2 separate regions of the Homo sapiens genome follow, and region 2 is linked to region 1. Evidence: promoter capture Hi-C in 16 types of primary human blood cells and fetal thymus (Javierre and others, 2016). All regions are on one chromosome and are shown on one strand. The core of a region is centred on a gene start or on the middle of the fragment in contact, and the rest is flanking DNA. Distances in the headings are between cores, read along the strand shown.

The links. Contacts are between HindIII fragments. The CHiCAGO score rates a contact against its expected background, and 5 or more counts as called.
Region 2: a fragment that was not itself captured here is called in contact with the fragment with the promoter of HIGD2B in region 1 in 1 of 17 cell types (fetal thymus); the score reaches 5.4 in fetal thymus.

What each region holds. Positions count from the first base shown.
Region 1 is chr15:72,684,878-72,689,455 of GRCh38, reverse strand. It overlaps HIGD2B (HIG1 hypoxia inducible domain family member 2B), which reads left to right and starts at 3,274. Exons shown (of 3, transcript NM_001350932.3): 1 at 3,274-3,638. BBS4 (Bardet-Biedl syndrome 4) reads right to left here and starts at 3,249. Exons shown (of 16, transcript NM_033028.5): 1 at 3,205-3,249. The coding sequence starts at 3,228. The HindIII fragment of the contact is 12,662 bases long and covers 2,825-4,578 here.
Region 2 is chr15:72,784,611-72,789,465 of GRCh38, reverse strand. ADPGK-AS1 (ADPGK antisense RNA 1) reads right to left here. Exons shown (of 3, transcript NR_040107.1): 1 at 4,270-4,855; 2 at 1,873-2,044. Among named protein-coding and RNA genes, the nearest start is that of ADPGK, 3.3 kb to the right of the region's middle. The HindIII fragment of the contact is 1,069 bases long and covers 2,868-3,936 here.

The DNA.
Region 1 (4,578 bases), core at 2,025-4,524:
CAGCCTGTTTGCTCATTTTTTAAGAATTCTAAACTATACTGAAAATACAAATATTAGTCCTCAGTTTTCCTTCTAAGGAACTGGTAGCAATCCGTAAGTAATTTTGGTAGCATACTAGAATTTCTGCGTCCCACACTGGGCTAGTTTTACTCAGTTTTGATGGGGTGTCTTCTGGCCTCAAGGCCTTGACTGTAGCCTTCTTAGATTTTTAGCTATACATTTCTTCAAAAATTCTGTGAGTTTTGAGTCTTTTCCTTTTCTCTCCTCCATATCCATATATCCTTATCTACGGATCTATATGTTTTCCTTTGTGTTATGAAATTAAGATCACATAATATACCCCACTTCACATCTACCTTTTATTTAAATGTACACCATGGAAGTCCCTCCAAGTCAATTAGTCGTAACATTCTCTTTTTTTTTTTTTCTTTCTGAGTTTAGGAATGGAGGTTTAATAGGCAGAAGAAAGAAAGGAGAACAGCTTTCTCTAGTGAGAGAGAGGGGCTTCTGAGAGGAAAAGCAATTAGTTGTAACATTCTTTTTAATGACTGCATAATATTCCACAGTATGGAAATATCTGAAGTCATCAATTACCCTATTAATGGGCATTTAATTTGCTTCCAGCGTTTTGCCACTACGGATAGTACTACAACGAATGCCCTAGTACTACACGCTCATGTTTAACACTTTTTTCTGTGGGACACAGGTCTAGGAGTAGGATTACTGGGTTCTTTTAATTGTATTAAAAAATAAGGCAGGGGGCCATGGCTCACGCCTGTAATCCCAACACTTTGGGAGACCGAGGCGTGCAGATCACAAGGTCAGGAGTTCAAGACCAGCCTGGCCAACGTGGTGAAACCCCATCTCCACAAAAATAAGCCAGGCATGGTGGTGAGGGCCTGTAACCCCAGCTACTCGGGAGGCTGAGGCAGAAAAATCACTTGAACCCGGGAGGCAGAGGTTCCACTGAGCTGAGATCACGCCACTGCACTCCAGACAGGGCGACAAAGTGAGACTCCGTCTCAAAAAAAAAAAAAAAAAAAAGATAAAATACCACTTCCTAAAAGGACAGAAATTCACATTTCCATGCATTGGTAACTTGAAAAGATGAAAATTACTATAAACGTAACACTACTAGCAATAAATTTGACAACAATGAAAACAGTTAACTTCAGGCTTAATTGCTAAGTCATATCGAAACAAAAGCTATTCTCTTTAAAACAGTATTAGACATTCAAATGTACATGACAATTCTGCCGTCACAGACTCAAGTTCATATTCTATTACACAAACACTTGTGATGAGCACTAGAGGATAAGCTATATTTGTAGCAATGTTATGTTACCCATTATCTTTTACACTTTAAGATTACTTAGAAGTATTTTCTTTTTTTTTTTTTTTTTTTTTTTGAGACGGAGTCTTGCTCTGTCACCCAGGCTGGAGTGGAAGTATTTTCTTTCCTATGTTTTTAATATTTAAAACCCAGTAACATTAACCATGCTATTTACTTTTTTTTTTTTTCTGAGACGGAGTTTTGCTCTGGATGCCCAGGCTGCAGTGAAATGGCACGATCTCGGCTCACTGCAACCTCTGCCTCCTGGGTTCTAAGCGATTCTCCTGCCTCAGCCTCCCTAGTAGCTGGGATTACCAGCGCCCGCCACCACGTCCAGCTAATTTTTTGTATTTTTTTAGTAGGGACAGGGTTTCACTACGTTGGCCAGGCTGGTCTCGAACTCCTGACCTCAGGCGATCCACCCACCTCAGCCTCCCAAGGTGCTAGGATTACAGGCGTGAGCCACTGAGCCTGGCCTATTTAATTATTTTAAAATCTGTTTTTTCTTTCTTTTTTTTTGAGAAGGAGTCTGTCTCTGTCGCTCATGCTGGAGTGCAATGGCATGATCTCGGCTCACTGCAACCTCCGCCTCCGGGGTTCAAGCGATTCTCCTGCCTCAGCCTTCCAGGTACCTGGGATTACAGGCGAGCGCCACGATGCCCCGCTAATTTTTGTATTTTTAGTAGAGACGGGGTTTCACCATGTTGGCCAGGATGGTCTCAAACTCATGACCTCAAGTGATCCACCCGTCTCGGCCTCCCAAAGTGCTGGGATTACAGGCGTGATGCACCGCGTCCGGCCTAGCTATTTTAAATTTCTTAGCTTAATAAAAATGTTTCGGCCGGGCGTGGTGGCAGGCGCCTGTATTCTCAGCTAATCCGGAGGCTGAGGCAGGAGAATTGCTGGAACCTGGGAGGCGGAGGTTGCAGTGAGCCGAGATCGCGCCATTGCACTCCAGCCCGGGCCGACAACAGCGACACTCCGTCTCAAAAAAAAAAGTTTCTGTCTTCAGAGTTTTCTAATTAGACTAGAATAATATGACTACTCTGCAAATGAGAGTAGAAAACAAACAAAAGGCCCTCTAACAATAACACTAACCTTGCTGCTTAGCCAAAACTAAGTTGTAAAACAGCCAAAGGCTGCTATTTGTACTGTTTTCCAGGGCGTTTTTCGAAAGACAATAAATTCCGAATACCTAAAATCATTCTAACAAATGGACAGAACAGGCTTTCAAACCCAACACTAAAGCAAGGTAAACAAAGCTTCACACTTGGCACTTTACCGAAATTAGATCCAATTATAGATATATGCCTCAAAAAATAGCGACTAGGTCATCCTGAATTCATCGGGTTCCTCTATATTAGCAGTTCTGTGGAGTGAACGCCCAACTCAGCCTTCAGATGAATTCCAAAACCGTACTTTCCTAAACTTAATCACCACAGAAAAAACACAGTCCCGCTCCACTGGCAGAAGGCAGTGACGCTGCAAGCTTCCAGGCATGTTAAATTCCCAATTCACGGGATTAACAGGAACTGTCTACACAAGTGCTAGTCATTACCTTCCAAACCCCCGAGACAGAAAAAGATGGCACTACGGTAAGAGCCATTACTGGTGAAAAGTCTCCCTTCTCCGTCCAGCGCACCCCAAGAGGGACTACAGTCCTAGAACAGGACCTGTGCTGCTAAGTATCCAGACTTGCCCCAGGCGACCAGTTCCCGGGACAGTAAAAAGGGGACCGTGTCGCCCCGCCCACCCTGAGACGCTCGGCACCCAGCTCCGCCTCTCTCCAGGAACCGCTGCATGGGACAAAAGCCACCCGCCAGCTTGCCTTGCCCTGCGGCCGGGCAACTAAAGAGAATCTCGGCGCTCACCGTCGCGACTCTCTCCTCAGCCATTTTAGCTCAGCCCACCGCTGCGCGGCCGGAAGTCGGCGGTTTCCCAGACGACGAGGCAAGCGGAAGTCGTAGGGCTGTGGAGGACTGTGAGGAAGCGGGGGAAGGAAGTAAATCGCCGAGTGACCTAAGGAATCAGGGGGAGGATTAGGGTCTGCTCCACAGAAGGCTTACCTCTGAAAGAGTCGGGGAGGGAATGCGCAGCCACTCGCTGCCTTTATCCCGAGAAGCCCCTAACACCCCTCGCCGTGGTCTGTACATGGTCTGTACCTCCGGCCGCGCTGGCTGGTAGGCCAGCCACCTGGGATGGCAGCCTAGTTCTCCCGCCACCTTACCCTGCCCTGACTCTAATCTGCATTTAATTCAGTCCTTCTTCCGGGAGATTTCGGCGGAGAATTTCTTTCTCGCCTTAGGTACAAAACTCCCCGTTTCTTGGCTGTCACTATCGAACTGAGGTACTCACCTTATCAGCTTCCCACTCTTGTTTACTCCAGAGTTTGCAAACATGCTCCTGGTGGGCTGCATTTGAACGGCAGTCTTTTGATTGGAAATATTTAAAAGTTAGGAGATTTCACAAGAAATCGGCCATGGGATAAAGAGACGACAGTCGGCGTTTTCTGCAAGGCAGTGAAATAGATCTGAATAGCGGCTGCGACTGTAGATAACTTCCCTTCCTAACATACTTAAGGCGTTCTCCATTACCTGTCTGGCCCCCGGTGCGGTGAATTAAATGTTTAGTGTTTCTAAACTAGGAAAACGTGTGGGCTTTGGAATCAAACATGAGTTCTGAATTTGACTACTGCATGACCTAAGCCCGTCGTTTCTTTGAGCCTCATTTATTAAAGTGCCGGGAGCTGTGTGATGAACAAAACGGAGGATCCCTGCACCTGAGCACTGACATTAGCCCCAATTCATACTTTTAAGTCTCGCCCTTGTAATTTAGACATAAAATCTGCCTCTCCCAATTCATTAACTGGGAAAGCATTTAAGACAAGTTTCTCCAGGCCTCTAAGAGAGGGAGAACCCCACTGACAATTAGAGTTACATAGAAGAAACAAGTACGGTAATCTATCCAAATACAAGGGGAAAGGACAGCAATAGAATAACAGCTCTTCTAAGTATTTCAGTAACACTCTCTCTTTTAATCTTTATAACAATCCCATGAGACTGTTGGTCTCCCACTTTTTTCAGATAAATACTCTGCCTTTCATTTATTAAAAATAAAATTTTCCAGCTTGGCCAGCATGGTGAAACCCCGTCTCTACTAAAAATACAAAAAATTAGTCGGGCATGGTGGTGCCCGCCTGTAATCGCAGCTACTCGGGAGGCTGAGTCAGGAGAATCACTTGAACC
Region 2 (4,855 bases), core at 2,153-4,652, 100 kb before region 1:
CCCTTGTAGCAGAGCACATCTCTCCATATATACAAGCATTGTACCTAGGGTGGATGCGTTCCTCCTCTTAGTTTCGGGAACGTCCCGCTCTGTCTATGGAGTAGCAGTCCTTTCACCACTTTGCTTTCTTAATAAACTTGCTTTCGCTTTGCACTACAGACTAGCCCTGAATCCTTTCTTGCATGAGATCCAAGAACCCTCTCTTGGCGTCTGGATCTGGACCCCTTTCCTGTAACAGTTTCAGGGTGTATACATATATTAAACTTATTAATTTGTATACTTTAAATATTATGCACTTAATGCATATCAATTTTACTTCAATAAGCATACTAAAAATATTAAGTGCCTAGTAATAAAACTTACTAAAGACATACAAATCCTCCACAAAAAGTCTAATATGATATTGGGAGACATTTAGGTAGATCTAAATAAATGAAGGGATCTACCATAGTCCTAGAATGATAAAAATCCTAATTGGGTTTTTTTGGGAGGGAGGGCGACAAGTTGATTCAAAAATGTATATGGGAATTTTAAAAGGCCAAAGATAGCCAAGACACTCTTGAAGAGTAAGGAGAAAGAATTTATATTAACAGATATCAAGACAGTGAGACGCTGATAAACAAATAGACCAATGGAACAGATTGAAGAGCCCCAAAACAGATCCACACATACATAGACACGTGGTATTGGACAGAGGTGGGAATGCAGAGTCATTGAGAAATGACCAGTAAAAGGCACTGGGTCAATTGGGTATCTATAAGCATTCTTCTCACAACACACAAAAATCAATTCCAAGGTAGATTAAATACCTAAACATGAAATGTGAAAGCCTACAGCTCTTAGAAGGTTGTACAGGAAAATACCATCACGATCCTGAGTATGGGAAGATTTTTTAAATAAGTAACAAAAAGCACCAATGATAAGGGGAAAGTAGTAATAAAAAAAGAACAAAACGGTAACTACACTAAAAACGAAGAACTTTAAGCCTGCGCATGGTAGCTCACAACTGTATTCCTAGCACCTTGGGAGGCCAAGGCAGGAGGATCTCTCGAGGTCAGGAATTCAAAACCATCCTGGGCAACACAGAGAGACCCTATCTCTACAAAAATACATAAATAAGAATAATTTTTCATAGAACTCTACTCACTAAAGATATTATAAAAAGAATGAATAGACAAGTGACTGGGAGGGAGGCAAGATACTTGCAAATAACCAACAAATGGAAACTTGTCAAAACCACAGTAAGATACCACTACACACCCTACAAAATGACAAAGCTTTAAGAATCTGTTGGAGTGTAGCTGGAGCAACAGAAATTCTCATATGCTGCCAGTGGGAAGATAAACTGGCATACCACTTTGGAAAGATGTCAGATATTATATAGTAAAGTTGAAGACAGGCATATCATATGACCCAGAAATGTTACTTTGTTTCTACCCTGAAGAAATGGCTATACACGTGTACCACAGCATATACATAGCAACACTGTATGTAATAGTAAAAAAACTGGGAAAACTCCAAATCGTCTATTCATAGTACAATAGATAAATTTTAGTATTTTCATTCAGTGGGATATTACATAGATGCTAAGCCGTCAAAAAATAGAAAAGGCTACTGCATAGTGACCTATGCAGAAATGGCTGTCTTCCTTATAGTAAGAGAGTGACAGACCAGCAAGAAAGACTAAAAAGAAAATTAAATATAGCTCTCAGAACCAACCATAGCAACAGCAGGGAATGTTTTGAATTCCAGCATGTAGCAGACACTGTGCTAGACTGTCTTAAGATAACTCTACCTCCCACAACCATTCTGCAAAGTAGGAATTATTTTGCATATAAGGAAACTGAAGAACAGAAAAGTTAAATGACTTACCTGAGGGCACACAGATAGCAGGTGACAGAGTGAAGATTTGCAGCCAGGAATCAAATCCCACCTTCTTTCCATTGAAGTATGAACTGTTGATTGCAGCAACCATTCACCACCCCTCCCTTCATCCAGAACCCTGATTTTGTTAAGATGTACTGCCTCTTCCGTGCTGTCCACCCTAGGGATGGCAGAGCAAAAGACAGAACAAGCATGGGCCCCTGAGGACTCTCTCTGGCAATGCTGCCAGGCCATCCCAGTTAGATGTTTTTGCTTCCTTTTATTTATTTTTCCTTTATTTTAGTTTTAGGCCCAGTGGTTGTAGAACTGCTAGGGTTCTTGAATCAAAAAGAAAATGTAGTTAGAAGGCAAACTTCCCATTTCCTTCCAAACCATTGCAAGTAATACTGAAACCCAAACCAGATCACTACAGCAGATGCTACAAGGGCTACAACAGGACTGGTTTACGCAGCCTGCAGAAGAGAACCCAAGCAGGAAGGCCTGTGAGTGTAAAGGGCTCCAGCAGGCAGCCTGGTAGCAGTGTTCCGGGAAGCCTGAGATGGCTAAGAGCACTGTGAGGGTGGAGGCCTCTGCTTTATCCTGCCCCGATTCATTCGCCCTATGAAGCTCATAGGTCCCTGCCAGACAGAAGCCCACACAGTCCTGTGCCTCCTGCCTTTCTAGGCTCAGCGCTTCTTCCTGGTCCAAAGCAGTTAATTTCCAAAGTGAAAATTCCGGGCCACTATGTTGTCACATCCCCTCAAGCTACAACCCGGTTCCCAGTCTGTGTAGGAAGTTCTATTACTATCAAGAAACTCTCATGTTCTTCTTACTGCTTTGCTGCTGACGTTCCTCTCATCTGGCTCCTGTGCCTCAACACCCCTGCCTCTCCCCTGCACTGGCCAGAGGCAGTCCATCCTCTGAGCACTTCTAGTCCCCTCCTGACCTCACATTAGTGAGGAGGATGTCTGATTGCCAAGGGCTATGGCTACAGACACAAAGCTTTCTCTTTTCGGGGGCTGGGATCCTTTATTCCATCTCTTCAATCTCTTTGGAGTTTTCTGTAATCTTCAAAATTGTGCTCTGACTCTGGCCTTTGGGCATGGCCTGTGGTGGGCTGTGTCCCTGGCATCAACAAAGGCTTTGACACAGTGTGGCCTTCAAAGAGCAGCTTGGATGAAACCCCAGAGGCCTGGAGCTGCAAGGAAAGTGGGTTAGCCCAGCTTTCACAGGGACCATTTGGTCCCACTTTAGTTTCTGCTCCACGTGGGAACAAATGTGCCCCTTAAGGCCTTTCAGATTGCGGGGGTGACGCTGATGGGTATTTATGTTAAAGCCAAAACCTTCAGCTAATTTGGAAGCTGACAGGATTCTGCTAATTCTTTGTGTTCATACAGGATCTGCTCCCTGGCCTTCCAGGTCAGGATCTTGGGTGGGGCACCTGGAGCCTCCATTTGCCTCTGAATTTTCTAGAACCAAATTGCTTTTCTTCTCTCATTTCAAGGTCCTAGGAGAGAGAACCAATAGGAAAGGCCATGTCTGGAAGCAATTTGGGTGGGGGCGGGGGGTGTCTTGAGGCCTGCCCAGCCCAGCCCTTTCCTCTTTGTTCAGCCTAGGCAAAGGAGCCACAGCTGCCCACTCAGAGCTGTTTTAATTGTCCCCAGAAACCTAACTTCTAGAAAAACAATTGGCTTGCAAAGGATTCCAGACTCTCTGAACAGATAGATGATCAGAATCTTTTCTGATTTTCGTTAAGGAAATATTTCAAGAGGGACTGTGGCACCAAGACAGTGAATGCCTGCCCCTGAGCCCCGATGAGAAGGAATTAAGGGCCCTGTGACTCTGTATGTGACCAGAAGCCACATCAGGCTCCGCCAGGCCTGGCAACTGTCCCTGGTGTTCTGTTCTTCACCTCCTGCGGCTCCTGACTCTTCAGTTCTCAGTTGGAATTGAGGTCAGCTCTCTCGTTTCCTTGTCTGGCCCCCTTCACCACCCACAATGCAAACCCACACTGAGTGACTAACCAGCAAGAGGCCCACAGCAGGTCCCATAGCAACCAGAGGGGGCCAAGCTTGCTACCACAGCCCACAACATGCCAACACCCCATTTAGACTTTTACATGAGAAATAAACATCCACTTTGTTCAACTGCTGTTGTTTTGTCTCTGTGACTAAATCAACAATTCTGGCAAATCTAGAAAGAAGCAGAAGAATTAGGTGCAAAGTGCTGGAAGTTTAGCAGCCTCTCGTGGGAGCAAGAAAGCCCCAGGCAGGTTTCTGTCCACATCACTTTAATGTGGAGCACTCTCCTAGTCCTCTAGATCTGTCTGTTCTATCACCTTCCCACAGTTCAGCTTCCTGTGCTCCCCAAAACTTCACCTTGGAAACATATTTAACTGGTTCTGACCTTTAGCCTTGTGTGACTTTGTGGGTCCACAGCCAATATCAAATAACTACAGACAACAGAAACTTGGTTAAAATTCTCAATAGAGGGAAATGATCGCTGGACAGTCAGCAGACTCGCTGTTTTCAGGTCAGCTGCTGGCTCAGTCCCCTCTGGGTGCCAGGGAAACCTGACAGCTGAGGGTTGTGAGAAGAAGCAGTTTCTCTAGGAACTGACTGACATGTCTCCCTAAGGAGAGAGAAGTGACAGGCAACTCTAGGGAAGATGGCTTTCATGGCTTCATAAAGATCTGACTGGCTCTTTGGCTTCTTTTCCAAGGTAGCCCAAATCTGTTCCTGTGTGAATATCTTTGTCGAAAGGGATGGCATGGTCAGGTAGGCTGGGTAGGATGAACTGCGGGAAGGTAGATGACCAGGATGGGGAAGTTCTGATGAGGTGGGGCTGAGGAGAATGAAGACTAATGCCCAAGATCAAAGTTAGGGAAATAAAGTTTCGCTGCCAAGTCCAAAGGTCAGGGTCACAGTGGAAAACTGGACACAAAGCCAAGGTCAGGAGCCGAGAGAATTGGAAAAGTGGAAACAAACCAGGG